Linked DNA regions of Homo sapiens: region 2 is linked to region 1. Evidence: promoter capture Hi-C in human tissues and cell types (Jung and others, 2019). All regions are on one chromosome and are shown on one strand. Each heading gives the region's core, a stretch centred on a gene start or on the middle of the fragment in contact. The rest is flanking DNA. Distances are from core to core; before and after follow the strand shown. Region 1 holds the start of SERP2 (stress associated endoplasmic reticulum protein family member 2). Region 2 overlaps ENOX1 (ecto-NOX disulfide-thiol exchanger 1).

Region 1 (5,994 bases), core at 208-2,707:
TGGTTTTGCAAGAATTCTGGTGTGATGATTACAGATCTAGCTTTTTGCTTAGTTAATCAAACCAATATAGTTTCTTTGGCTAAAAGGAATTGATTCATCAAATCTGCAAGCTTTCCCAGCCAAACTCCAGGCTTCAGCTGGATTTCCACTTAACTGTACGGGGTAACAGATCCCAGGCGCCTTTGCTCATATACTTGGAGACCAACTTCGCCAAACTACCCATGCGACTCATGCCTCTGAATGTCCAAAGTCACAGGCCTCGCATTTTCTGTTGATGATAATCTGCTTTGCTAAAAGAAACTCCTGAGTGTAAGGCACAGGTTTTACTTAAAAGTCCAGTTGCAAAGCTTGAATTTACAGTTCTAGGGACACCGAATGCCTGACAATAAACTGGTCTCTAAAGTTATACCATGAGAATGAGTCTGAATTCACCAAGTGGAAAGAATAGGAATGCTGCCCTTAGACTTTAGCCTAGGGGCTGAGGGAGGTCTCGCTGGAAGAGAGGTAAAAGAGAAAAAAGAGGCTGGAGGGAATGTGGGTCCAAATCTCACTCCCCATTTTGAGCTCTTTCCACACCTCCAGTGAAACCGTCACAAAGGGGCTGGAAAGAAAACTTGATCCTGGTGCAAGTCTGTTGGGGAGGGAAGACAGGTGGAGTCCGGGAGGAGATGACAAGTGGCCTCCATTTAGCCATTGATTCATTCATTCATTCAACAAACGTTCTAGAACATACTAGGTTCCAGGCTCTGTGTCATGCAACGTTCTAGAACATACTAGGTTCCAGGCTCTGTGTCATGCAGTTGACTTAACTGGCCCCTAAGGATGAGGCTTTCCGTCTTTCTCCGGGACAAGGCCCAGCTGTCTCCCGGGCAGGGGGACAGGGGGTGCGGGTCGGGGAGGAGGGCTCCTCTGCGCCTCCCTGGTAGCCCAGGTAGCCACTCCCAGAGGGGCCACGACCAACCAGGGCCCTCTCCGCCCACGAGGACGCCAAGCAGACCGCGCCGCCCTGAACCCAGCTCTCAGCCCCCACTCTGCAGGACCCCGCAGAAGGGGCGGGCCGGGAGCCGGGAGGCCGGACCCTGCGCCGCTACCCGCCCGGCCCCGCCCCCACCTTCCGCCCCACCCCGCCGGGCTGCAGGGCTCTGCCTGGCCGGCGCCGACCCCGCCTTACCAGGGTTTTGGCTACGTTCCCCCTCTGGGTGATGTTTTTGCTGTGCTTCTCGTTAGCCATCCGGATCCGCTGTTTGGCCACCATGGCTTGTGCGCTCTGAAATGCTCCCACCTGCAAGGATTCCCCCTGCGTTAGCTCCTGCGACAGGGCCGAGCGCGTCCCGCCGAGGCCCCCGCGGCCCACCCGGGCGCTGCAGGTGGCAAGGCGTGGCCCCGAGCCCTGCGCACCCCGCTCCCCGAGCCCCGGCTAGCCGACTCCAGAGAGAGGCCGCAGCCCGGACGGAAGTAATCTCTCATCTCAGGAAACCCTTTCCGACTTCCTCGCCATCCTTCCGGTCCCCGCAGCCACCTACCCCGCGCGGCCACCGAGGCAGGCGCGACCGCACGTCCTCCCGCGCCGAGCGGCCGGAGCGCAGCGCGCAGAGCCGGGGCCCTGCAGTGTCGCGGTCCTGTAGCCGAATGCTGCGGGGCCGAAGGTTCGGGCGACCACGGCGTTTGTGAGCGCGTCGGGGACGGGGACGCGGCCCCTCCTGTGTTTGTCGGCCGGTGACCCACCCCAGCCCCGGGGAAGGGATGAGGGCGGCCGCGCTTCAGGCCGGGCCGCGCGGTCTCCCCTGCACCGCCGCCCCCTGGACGAGGGCTGGACCCAAGGCGGTGGTCAGGGACCTCAGAACACAAGTAGAACCAGTCCAGGCCCGGGCCCGCGCTGCCCGGGTATGGTCCACCAAACGAGCCTTCTCTTTAAGGGTCTCGAGAAGGGCCCCACGCTGGGGGACCCCACTGCAGAACTTTTCGTGAGGGCTGCAAGGAGGGCCGCGTTGTAAAATAAAGAGGAGACACGAAGCGGCATCCCCTGAGGGTTGGGGATCGGGCCGTGAGGATGGAGTTGGGACAGGCCTTTTTGCTTTGGTAGTTGTAGGGGTTGCATTGGAAGATGGGCCAGCGGCAGAGCGGAGCATGCAGGAAAGAGGAAGAGGCCTTGGACCTGCAGCCCAGGTCGGATTTGGTGGTTACTGTCTAAATCTGAAGCTTTGGCCTGCCTTGACTCCCCACCCACCCAGGGCAGCTTGGACCTCTCTCTAGCCACCCTTGTCCCGAGGGGTCTGAGTGTCTCCCAGACTAAACTGGGCATTTTCTGCAGTGGAAGGATAAAAATGGAAGCGTTTACGCGCCTCCCAGACACTGGTATTAGGGCTCAAGAGCTCTACAGATTGCCTGGGGAGGTAGGGGTGGAAGGGGTTCAGTTCCTCACTTGGAGTTAGCTCTTAGAAGCTCAGAAGAGTGGAGGCGAAGAGGGGACATTCAGCCTGGGAGATCTGGGGCAGCGGGAAGTGGGGATACCGGGTCGGGGTGAAGGCAAGCAGCAGCACCCCCAGCATGGGGAAGAAGGCCTGAGGCTGTCTCTGGCCACTGCATCTCTAGGCCTTCTCTTGGAGCGGGAGGTGGCTGGGTTTCCAGGGAATTTTGTGTGAGTAAAATTTTCCCATGTCATTGGAGAGTTAGGAAGAGCTCCTCTTTTGGGGCCTTTTTCCAAGCGGGTCCCCCTCACCCCGCTACAGGCTTCTTGTCACTCAGGCTTCAATAAAGGCCATTCTGGGGGCTGCTTGCTGTAACCTAGAAGACAGAATTGCCTAGGATCATTAGTAGAGTCATTTTTTTTTTTTCCTACTCTACAGGCCAATTAATTTGAAACAAGCTTCTATGGTCTTTTAACTGTTAGCATCACCACTGTTGTAACAGGACCATAAACCCAGTCTGCCCCACTCTAGTCCCATGTTTTTAATAACTGTTGGCTCTTTTTTAGGGGTTTGGGTGGGGGGATTCCTACCTCAGTGATCCCTGCTGAGCCTGGCTGTTGTCTGTGGTCCAGAAGGTTCCTTTACCTGACTCACTCCTCTCAGATCATGTCCAAATACCAGGAGACTGACCCAGGTCCTCACCAGGTGAGTAGAGGTCTGGCTCTGAGCGACATTAAGGAAAAGACACAGACAGAGACTGTTTTCTCTTTGGGTCTTCACATTCAGTGAGTACAGTTCAGAAGTGTTCTTAACTGAGAGAAGCCCCTTTTGGGGAAAATTTTTCTTTACTGTTGACTCCTTTTTCCTGCTATGCTTCACTTTTCCGGCATTTTAAATTAGTTTGTTTTAATTATGAGTAGACTACATCTACACAGTAAATAGTCAAACAGAAATAGGATAGAAAATGAAAAGTAAAGGTCTCTCTTTCCTTGCCACCCTCCCCAAAAAGTTCCCACGGTTCCTGGGTTGCCCTTCCAGTATATACAAGACTATTTGTATATTCCCTTCTAAAAAAAAACGGAATAGTAGTATGCAAACTGTTCTGCCACGTGCTCTTCTAACTTAATATATCAACATTATCATATCACTTATATATGACCTCTTTCTTGTAGTTGTGTTATGTCTCATAGTATGATTATACAGTAATATATTGAACTGATGTAACCATGGATGATTATTTCCAGTTTTTCTTTTTTTGTGGTTGCCAACAATGCTTCAGTGAATATCCCTGTACATAGATCAGTGTGTACTTGTGCAGGTATATCTGCGTGTGATATTGTGAAATATATATTTGATTGTAGTCCCTGTTTCCTGACCTAAAACTCTTAAATTCCTTGGACTCTCCAGAGTGATGAAAATATCTTACCTTTTGTATGCTAATGAGATGGTTGGTGACTTGGAGACCCTAGATAGCTTCAGGATGGGGACTGGTCACCAGAAAGATCAAGGCAGGATTAGAGGGTTGGGACTTTTAGTCCCACCCTGTCCCCCCAGACCTCCACAGAGAGGAGAGGGGCTGAAAGTTAAGTTGATCACCAGTGACCAATGATGTAATCAATCAGACATATGCAATGAAGCCTGTATAAAAGCCCAAAGGATAGGGTTTGTTGAGTTCTGGAGAGCAGAACATCAGGTTCCTAGAGGGTGGCGTGCTCAGAGAGGATATGGAAGCGCCACAGCCCTTCCCACATTTCTTGCCCTGTGCATCTCTTCCATCTCACTGTTCATCTATATGCTTTGTAATATCCTTCCTCATAAATGAGCAAACAGAAGTAAAGTGTTTCACTGAGTTCTGTGATCCACTCTAGCAGATTAGTCCAAACAAGGAGTGGGTTGGGGGAACTCCAGTTTATAGCTGGGCAGGCAGAGGTACAGGAGACAACCTACTACCTGGGATTGGCATCTGAAATGGGGGGCGGTCTCATAGGATCAAACCCTGAGCCCCTGCTATTTCCAGGTACATAGTGCCAGAATTGAATTGAATTAAAGGACACCCAGCCGGTGTCTGTTGCAGAATTGCTTGGTATGAGGGGAAACATCCCCCACACATCTAGTGTTAAAAGTGTGCTGGCTGTGTGAGAGTGGGAGACAACACTTTGGTTTCTCCTATATCACAACACTGGAATTAGATTCCTGGAAGTGAAATTGCTGCAACTTTTTATGTCCTTGGTTGGATGAAGAAACCTCGTGCTGTGACCTCCACTTTACCTGCTCACACCCCTGCTTTTGTCCTCTGCAGTCAGGCCAGCTCCTCTGCAGGTCTCAGTCCTGTTTATTGCCTTGAGGATCACCATCATGGACCAAGCAGTTTCCCAGCATGGATCCTGGCCCTTCTTATACTCAGCCTCCAGACCCTTATGTGGGGAGCTGGGGCTAAAGTCTATAAGCTGTGTTCCTGGAGTTCCAGAGTCACTACTAGACTACGAAGGAGCAAAGCATGGAGTCGTCTTGCTCTTTCGAGGACTTAGGAGGGGAAAATGGAAACTTGATTAAGGAGAACTTCTCCTGGGTTCATCTATGGTGGCAGCATGGAGTTTTGTAATATACCACTAGCATGCAGTGCTCAACCACAACTTTTAAAATTGTTATGGGCAAAGTGCCAGGAAACTGCTAACTGGTTAAAATTTAATTTTGGCTGGTAAAATTTTCAGCCTTTATTTTTATTTTTGAGACAGAGTCTCACTCTGTCGCCCAGGTAGGGGTGCAGTGGCGCAATCTTGGCTCACTGCAACCTCTGCCTCCCGGGTTCAAGTGATCCTCCTGCCTTAGCCTCCTGAGTAGCTGGGATTACAGGCATGCACCACCACGCCTGGCTTTTTATATTTTTAGCAGAGACGGGGTTTCACCATATTGGCCAGGGTGGTCTTGAATTCCTGTCCTCAAGTGATCTGCCCACCTCAGCCTCCCAAAATGCAGGGATTACAGGTGTGAGCCACCATGCCCAGCCAATTTTCAGCCTTTAGAGCAAGAAATCCTAACAAGCCTATGCCCATTAATCATAAATCTGCCCCACTTAGGGCACTGGATGTGTGGCTGTACAGACTGAGTTTTACCCATCTTTATAAATGATGCTACACTACTAAACTGTGATGCATTGGACATCTCTCATTTTTCTGTGGCTGACCAGCATGCAAACATTCTTTATATTTGGGGCACTCCATCACTGTGAGAGTCTTAGGACCTTCTTTCCCACCGTGGAGCATAAGGGGGCCACATACTTGGTCTCCCAACCCCTCACAGCTAGGGTGGCGTGTGATCTGGCCAATGAGATTCTCCTTTTGGGAACTGTGAATCTTGATCAAGTGGTGCAAAGACAGAGACACGTTAAAATTCATCTTGGTGGTCGAGTTTCTAGAGACTGGTAGTACCTAGCAATCATGGTGGAACCAGTGACAGTATCCTTTTTATTCCGTGGTACCTGAAATCCTTACAATAAATTCTTCCGCTTCAATCAGCCAGAGTGAGTTTGTCTTATTTACAACCAAGAACCCTGACTCATGTACATGAAAACAAACAAAAAACCAGA
Region 2 (6,215 bases), core at 1,749-4,248, 890 kb after region 1:
AGTCCTTTGCCCATTTTTAAATTATATTATTTGGATATTTTGCAGTTGAGTTGTAGGAGTTTATTACATATTTAATATATTAACCCCTTATCAGATATATGGTTTGCAAATTTTTTCCCATTCTGTAAGTTGCCTTTTCACTCTATTGATTGCTTCCTTTGCTGCATGGAAGCCTTTTAATTTGATATAATTCTACTTGTCTGTGTTTGTTTTGTTACCTGTTCTTTTCTTGTGATATCTAAGAAATCACAGCCAAGACCAAATATGGAGCTTTTTCCCTGGGTTTTCTTCTACTAGTTGTGTAGTTTCAAATCTTATATTTAATTCTTTAATTCATTTTGGGTTGGTTTTGGTGTCTGGTATAAAATAAGGATCCAGTTTTATTCTGTGGCATGTGGATATACAGTTTTCCCAGCACAATTTATTGAAGAATAAGTTCTTACACTTTTGTGGAGTCTTGGAACCCTTGTTGAATATAATTTGATCCCATATATATATGGGTTTATTTCTGGACTCTCTATCCTCTTCCATTGGTCCATATATCTGCCTTTATGTCAGTACCATGCCATTCTGACTATTGTAGCTTTATATATTACAATTTTTTCATCTTGCATGACTGAAACTCTGTATATAATATATAGAGAGTTTGTTGTTACATTTCGACATCGGGAAGTATGAGGCTTCCAAATTCAACAGCATACTGCATACTGCTGTTGAATTTGGTTTGCTAGTATTTGTTGCTAGCAAAAAGTTGCTAGTATTTTGTTGAGAATTTTTGCACTTACATTCATCAGGGATATTGGCCTGTAGTTTTCTTGTGGCATGGTTGACTTTGGTATCAGGCTTATGCTGGCTTTATAAAATGAGTTAGGAAATGTTCCATCCTTTTCAATTTTTTAGAAGAGTTTGAGAAGGATTAGCATTAGTTCTTTAAATGTTTGGTAGAATGATCTGGTGAAGCTATCTGATATAGGACTTTTCTTTGTTGGAAGATTGCTAACTACTGACTCAATCTCCTTACTAGTTATGGGTCTGTTTAGGCTTTCTATTTTTTCTCTATTTAGTCTTGGTAGGTTGTGTGTTTCTAGAAATGTATCTGTTTCATCTAGGTTATCTAACTGGTTGGCATATCATTGTTCCTTGTAGTCTCTCATAATCCTTTTTATTTCTGTGATATCAGTGATATCAGTTGTAATGTCTCCTCTTTCATTTATGATTTCAAGTCTTTCTCAAGAAAGCCAATGTAATTTCTGAGCTCATATCATGTTAATTTATTTCTGCTTCCATTGAAAAAGAAAATTTATTGGTCAGACTTCCCCTGTATCATCCTAGTCTCAGTTTTTAAATCATCCTTTTTCTCTTTGGGAGAGATAAGCCCATTTTTAAAACTTTTCCTATAAATCTGCATAATCCAAAATTTTAATTATCCTCACAGTTCTTTCCTGAGTCTCTTAAGTTCCCTACATTTCACTTAAGTTTTAGAGGCCAAATAGGTTGAAGGAACATTGAAAATCATCTATTGATGTTTCTTCATCAGGGCAGTATTGGCATTTTAAGTGGGACAGTTCTTTGTGATGCAAGGTTGTCCCATGCATGTTTAGAATGTTTAGTAACCAGCCAGGTGCAGTGGCTCATGCCTAGAATTGAAGCACTTTGGGAGGCCGAGGCGGGTGGATCACCTGAGGTCAGGAGTTCAAGGCCAGCCTGGCCAACATGGTGAAATCCCATCTCAACTAAAAATACAAAAAAATTAGCTGGGCATGGTCGTGGGTGCCTGTAATCCCAGCTACTTCAGGAGGCTATGGCAGGAAAATGGCTTGAACCCGGGAGGTGGAGGTTGCAGTGAGCCAAGATCACGCCATTGCACTCCAGCCTGGGCAGCAAGAGAACAGCTCTGTCTCAAAAAAAAAAAAATAAAAATAAAAATAAATAAAAGAATGTTTAGTAACCACGGTTCTCAGGAACCAAAAGCCAACATCTCCCCCAACCCCAGTTATTGTAATAACCAGACTCAAACCTTCTTTCCCTTGTCCAGCAGTGGAGGTCTGCAACTGCCCAGACTACAGAAACTTCACTTAGAGCTGACAGTGCCCAAATGGGCAGAAAGATGGAGCTGGGTGTAGCCCCCTTTTTCTAACTCCGGGTACCATTCTCTTTCCATTCTATTGCACTTCTACTCTGAGATTACATTTATTTTTTAGCTGCCTAGAAATACACTAACATACATAAATGGATGGATAGACTCTTTCGAAGAACGAGAAATTCTGGTTTGGTGTTTAAAGGAGATCATTTTTCTTGATATAGGAACATGGATGAGGGAAAGATAATATTAGAACTCAGTACAGGAAAATGGCAGAGAGAGGACAGCTGTTGGATATGGAGATGGAGACAGGCTTGGACCTCAGGAGAAGTGGTGGGGCTGATGCCACAAAGGTGGCCGGTCAGTTACTGAGAACGGAAAGGGTAGAAAATCTGAAATCTGCAAGATGACTGGGAAAAGGTAAGTAATAAAGTAGTAGTTGTTTTTTTCACTTGCTTTTCACCAAGCACCATAGTTTCAGCTGTCTGCTCTAGGCCACAAGCTTCCTCAGAAAATCAAGGATCGGTTTGTGGGGAGCTCAAAGAACCCTTGATTACAGCCTAACTGCTCTCTCCCTTTAGTCCCAACATCCTTGGCCTCACCTCCTGCCATCCCCCTCAACACTTCTGCCTTCTGCCTCACTTACTTACTGTTGCCAACACCCAGTTCCATCTTTATGCATGCGGAGTATGGGGAAATGACTTGACAACTTCTGTTTCTCCTGATTTCTCCAAGGGCTCAAGTAAAGTTATAAACTAAAAGGAGAGGACATAGAAACAATTGACCTTTGGGGAGTTTCTCCTCCAAAGGCTTGGGGAATTTCTCCCCCGAAATGGCTCTGACCTCTTGAGGCTTTTACCGTAATATAATATGAATACAGCCTCTCCATGAAAAACCAAATTATCATTCACTACTATTTTCTTTGGGTTTAAGAAATCATTGAATTCCCCAGTACACAGGTTACTTAATAATAAAATGAGAAGAATTCATGAATTAACAATACAGTTTCCAGTAGGGGTATCTCAATTTTTATAGTGGGATTACAGTGAGTATCTGCCTCAGCTTCCACAAAATACACACAGTGAGTACAGTGTTGAAAATGAGAACTGGACTAAAGGGTCCTTTTCTTTGATTTCTAGTAAAATGAGGAATACTACATGATAAGATGTATCATCTATGAAAAGGCTACATTTATGGGAATAGAAAAAATAATATCAAAAGACTTTCATTATGTTGTGTTATTTAATTATTTAAAGCTTTATGAGTGAGTTCCTGAGTCAGGTTTTTAAAATATGGGGATTTTTCTGTCTTGTCTTCTTTTTTGCATACGACATCAAGTTATATTTGGCTTCTCAGAATTTCTCATTTCCTGAAATGCACTACTAGCTGTATAAACATGGAAGAATAAATATTAGCTTTATGAGAACACGTTCCTCTACTAGTTGAAAAATAGCATATAATAAAAAATACAAGGATGTAATACTGAAAATTATAGATCAATATGCCCTCTTATTGTGGGCGTATATCTAATCCTCATGCACGGAGTCTGTTTTTTCAGAAAAATGCCCACTGTATAATACCACTTGTGTCTGTGATTTATTTCTACCCCTCATATTTAATAATATATCTTAAGTGACTCTTGCCTTACTAGTGAAATGTTTCAGGCTTATTTTCCACTGTGATTTAAAAAATGAAAAAAAAAAAAAAAAAAAAAAAAAACCTCTCTGGCTCCTTGCCATTAATCCTAAGAATTACACATGATCCAAAATTAATAAAATGTTAGTAGGTTTCCTTCCTGCTGGAGTCCCCCAGCACCCAGTGAATGAGCTCCTTGGGGATTATGTTTGAAAATGTTTATTGGCAATTTTGAAAGAAAAGGAAGTCTTTGCGAGGAGCTTAAAAAAGTAATATTAATTGCAATGTTGCCCAGCTAATCAACACTTGTAAGTGTGCAAATTGTTATTCCAAAATCCAGACTCTATAAACATTTGTAGAAACAATGAAAACTTGGCATCTATTAACTGTGTCCCTTAAACCTCATATTCACACCCCATAAAGAAAAAAAAGAGTAACTCAAATAAATAGTGTATGAGTTGAAACATTCTTTTAAAGCTGGAGGACTCAATATAACTACATTCAGATAATTCACTTCCACCTGAAAATGACCATTCATTTGCCAAAAGTGCCACTGACTTCTCATTGCAAGGATAGTCTTTTCTTCTACAGTAAGTCTCCATTGTTTCTCTTTCTGAAGATGGAAAATAATCAGCCTTGTATATTCTCAGCTCAGCTCAGAAATAAGAAAGTTAGACTTACTAGAACAGCTCCTTCTAATTGTCTCAATTTCTACAGCTTTCTTTTTTTAGACAACAAATTTCAAAAAAATGTTAATTTTTATTGTCAAGTAGCTTAAACCTACAGAAAAGAGCAAAGCGTATGTATTCACCCCCATATTTAAAAATTTTAAAATGTTCTTCAGATATCTACTTCTCCTTTCCCAGAGGTACTATCATGATAATAAGGTTGTTGTATATTATACCATTTATCACATATATAGTTATAATTAATCTCTCTATATATATGTGTGTATACTATATATATATATGTATGTGTATATATATGTATACACACATATATATGTGCAATATTTTTTAAGTTTACATAGATGGGATCATACTGAATATATACCTTTGGAACTTGTTTTTTCTCAATTTTTTTTTTATTTTTTTAGAATCTCTCTCTTAATATATGGAGATCTGTTTCATTCATAGTGGTTAATTGTTGTATAGTTTTCCACAAATGAAGTATGTTCACTTTCTCATAATAGAACCAGTCTGTTGCTTTTTCTGGACAATTACCTGCCTGCACCCACCCATCTCCTCTTTTACAGTGGATATATGAGGTGACTGTATGATGCTGCTATGTCCCACCTACCATAGAAGAGGCACTTGGGAAATATCTGTTCCGTACATTCTGCTACAAAAACCTCTCACTTCCTTCTTCCTAACAGTGCTTCTGTTTTGTTGTTTCTGTTGAATGTGCCTCTATCCTTTTCTATTGATTTTTCCATGAGTAGTTTCTAATGTAGCTTTACTCGTTATATCTCAATCAACTATAATTGTGTCTGAAGAGTGGGAAATGACAAGGGAAACAGAACAAAGACAAACTAGAGAGAGTAAAAGAAGGAAGAAGGGGTTATTTCCCGCCTTTAGCTTCTAAGGGTTCAGTTGGTGTCCAGGAGAGTTACTTTTTGAAGTACATTTGCACATTCTTTTACACTTCATTATCTGGGAGGTCAGCTAGTTTTTGAGGCCTTTTCTCTTCCATTAGACAAATAAAAAATTTCTTTTTGTCTCTTTGTTTCAGAACCACATTAGAAAAATATGCACTTTTTTTTAAAGTTTAGTATGTTGTTAAAGGTTCCAGATGTATCTCAAGTTAAATGTTGTTTAGTGTCTGGTACCTTCACTAAATGAGAGCTATCAGAAATTCTCAAGTGAATACATATTTGTATTTTTGGTAGATTTTAGGCTTGTTTTATGGAGCGTTATACCTAGCATGTGCTCAATAAATCTTTTTTTGAATTACTGAATGAATAAACAAAGTAACAAATATTTGTAGCGATTACAGTAATATTTGTAGAGGTTACATGGTCATTTGACTTGGAGAGATATTAAAGTTTCTATTAATCATCTTTCATCTATTGAAACACTCTAACACTTCAATGCTTAGACCTCCTGTAATTGAAAACTGAGGTCTATAAACAAATATAAGATTAGAGTTAACTGAGACCATCCATTCCCAAGAGTTATTAAAATTAAGGTCTGTGTTTAAGGTTCCCACCTTATTTAGGGCTCTAAAAAAGTGTCCTTTATGGTAAAATTTTAAGAGCTGTATATCTTAGAGTTTAGGCTCTTCTCAAATTCTGTTTTGCTATTCTAAGAGATTAAAGCCTTTCTTTTTTTTTTTTTTTTTTTTTGGTCAGTTATGTTTTTGTATATGATTGTGGCCTGGGCCAATGCCACCACTAAGAAAATGGAACTTTTAAAAATTCAAGAGTAAAAGCCACTATTTCTAGAACTGACACAGCCCTTCCTAGGTTCAATCATTACCCCTTTAAATTATTTATTCCCTT

Evidence for each region. Contacts are between HindIII fragments. The study calls those that stand out against the background at their distance.
Region 2: a contact is called between a fragment that was not itself captured here and the fragment with the promoter of SERP2 in region 1, in 2 of the 25 tissues and cell types used here (aorta and dorsolateral prefrontal cortex).

Annotation. Positions count from the first base shown.
Region 1 is chr13:44,369,287-44,375,280 of GRCh38, reverse strand. SERP2 (stress associated endoplasmic reticulum protein family member 2) reads right to left here and starts at 1,457. Exons shown (of 3, transcript NM_001010897.3): 1 at 1,172-1,457. The coding sequence starts at 1,255. LOC105370297 (a long non-coding RNA gene) reads left to right here and starts at 1,715. Exons shown (of 2, transcript XR_001749858.3): 1 at 1,715-1,884; 2 at 2,084-5,922. The HindIII fragment of the contact is 4,304 bases long and covers 1-2,533 here.
Region 2 is chr13:43,475,639-43,481,853 of GRCh38, reverse strand. All of the region lies in intron 3 of ENOX1 (ecto-NOX disulfide-thiol exchanger 1), which reads left to right. Among named protein-coding and RNA genes, the nearest start is that of ENOX1-AS2, 30 kb to the right of the region's middle. The HindIII fragment of the contact is 4,962 bases long and covers 518-5,479 here.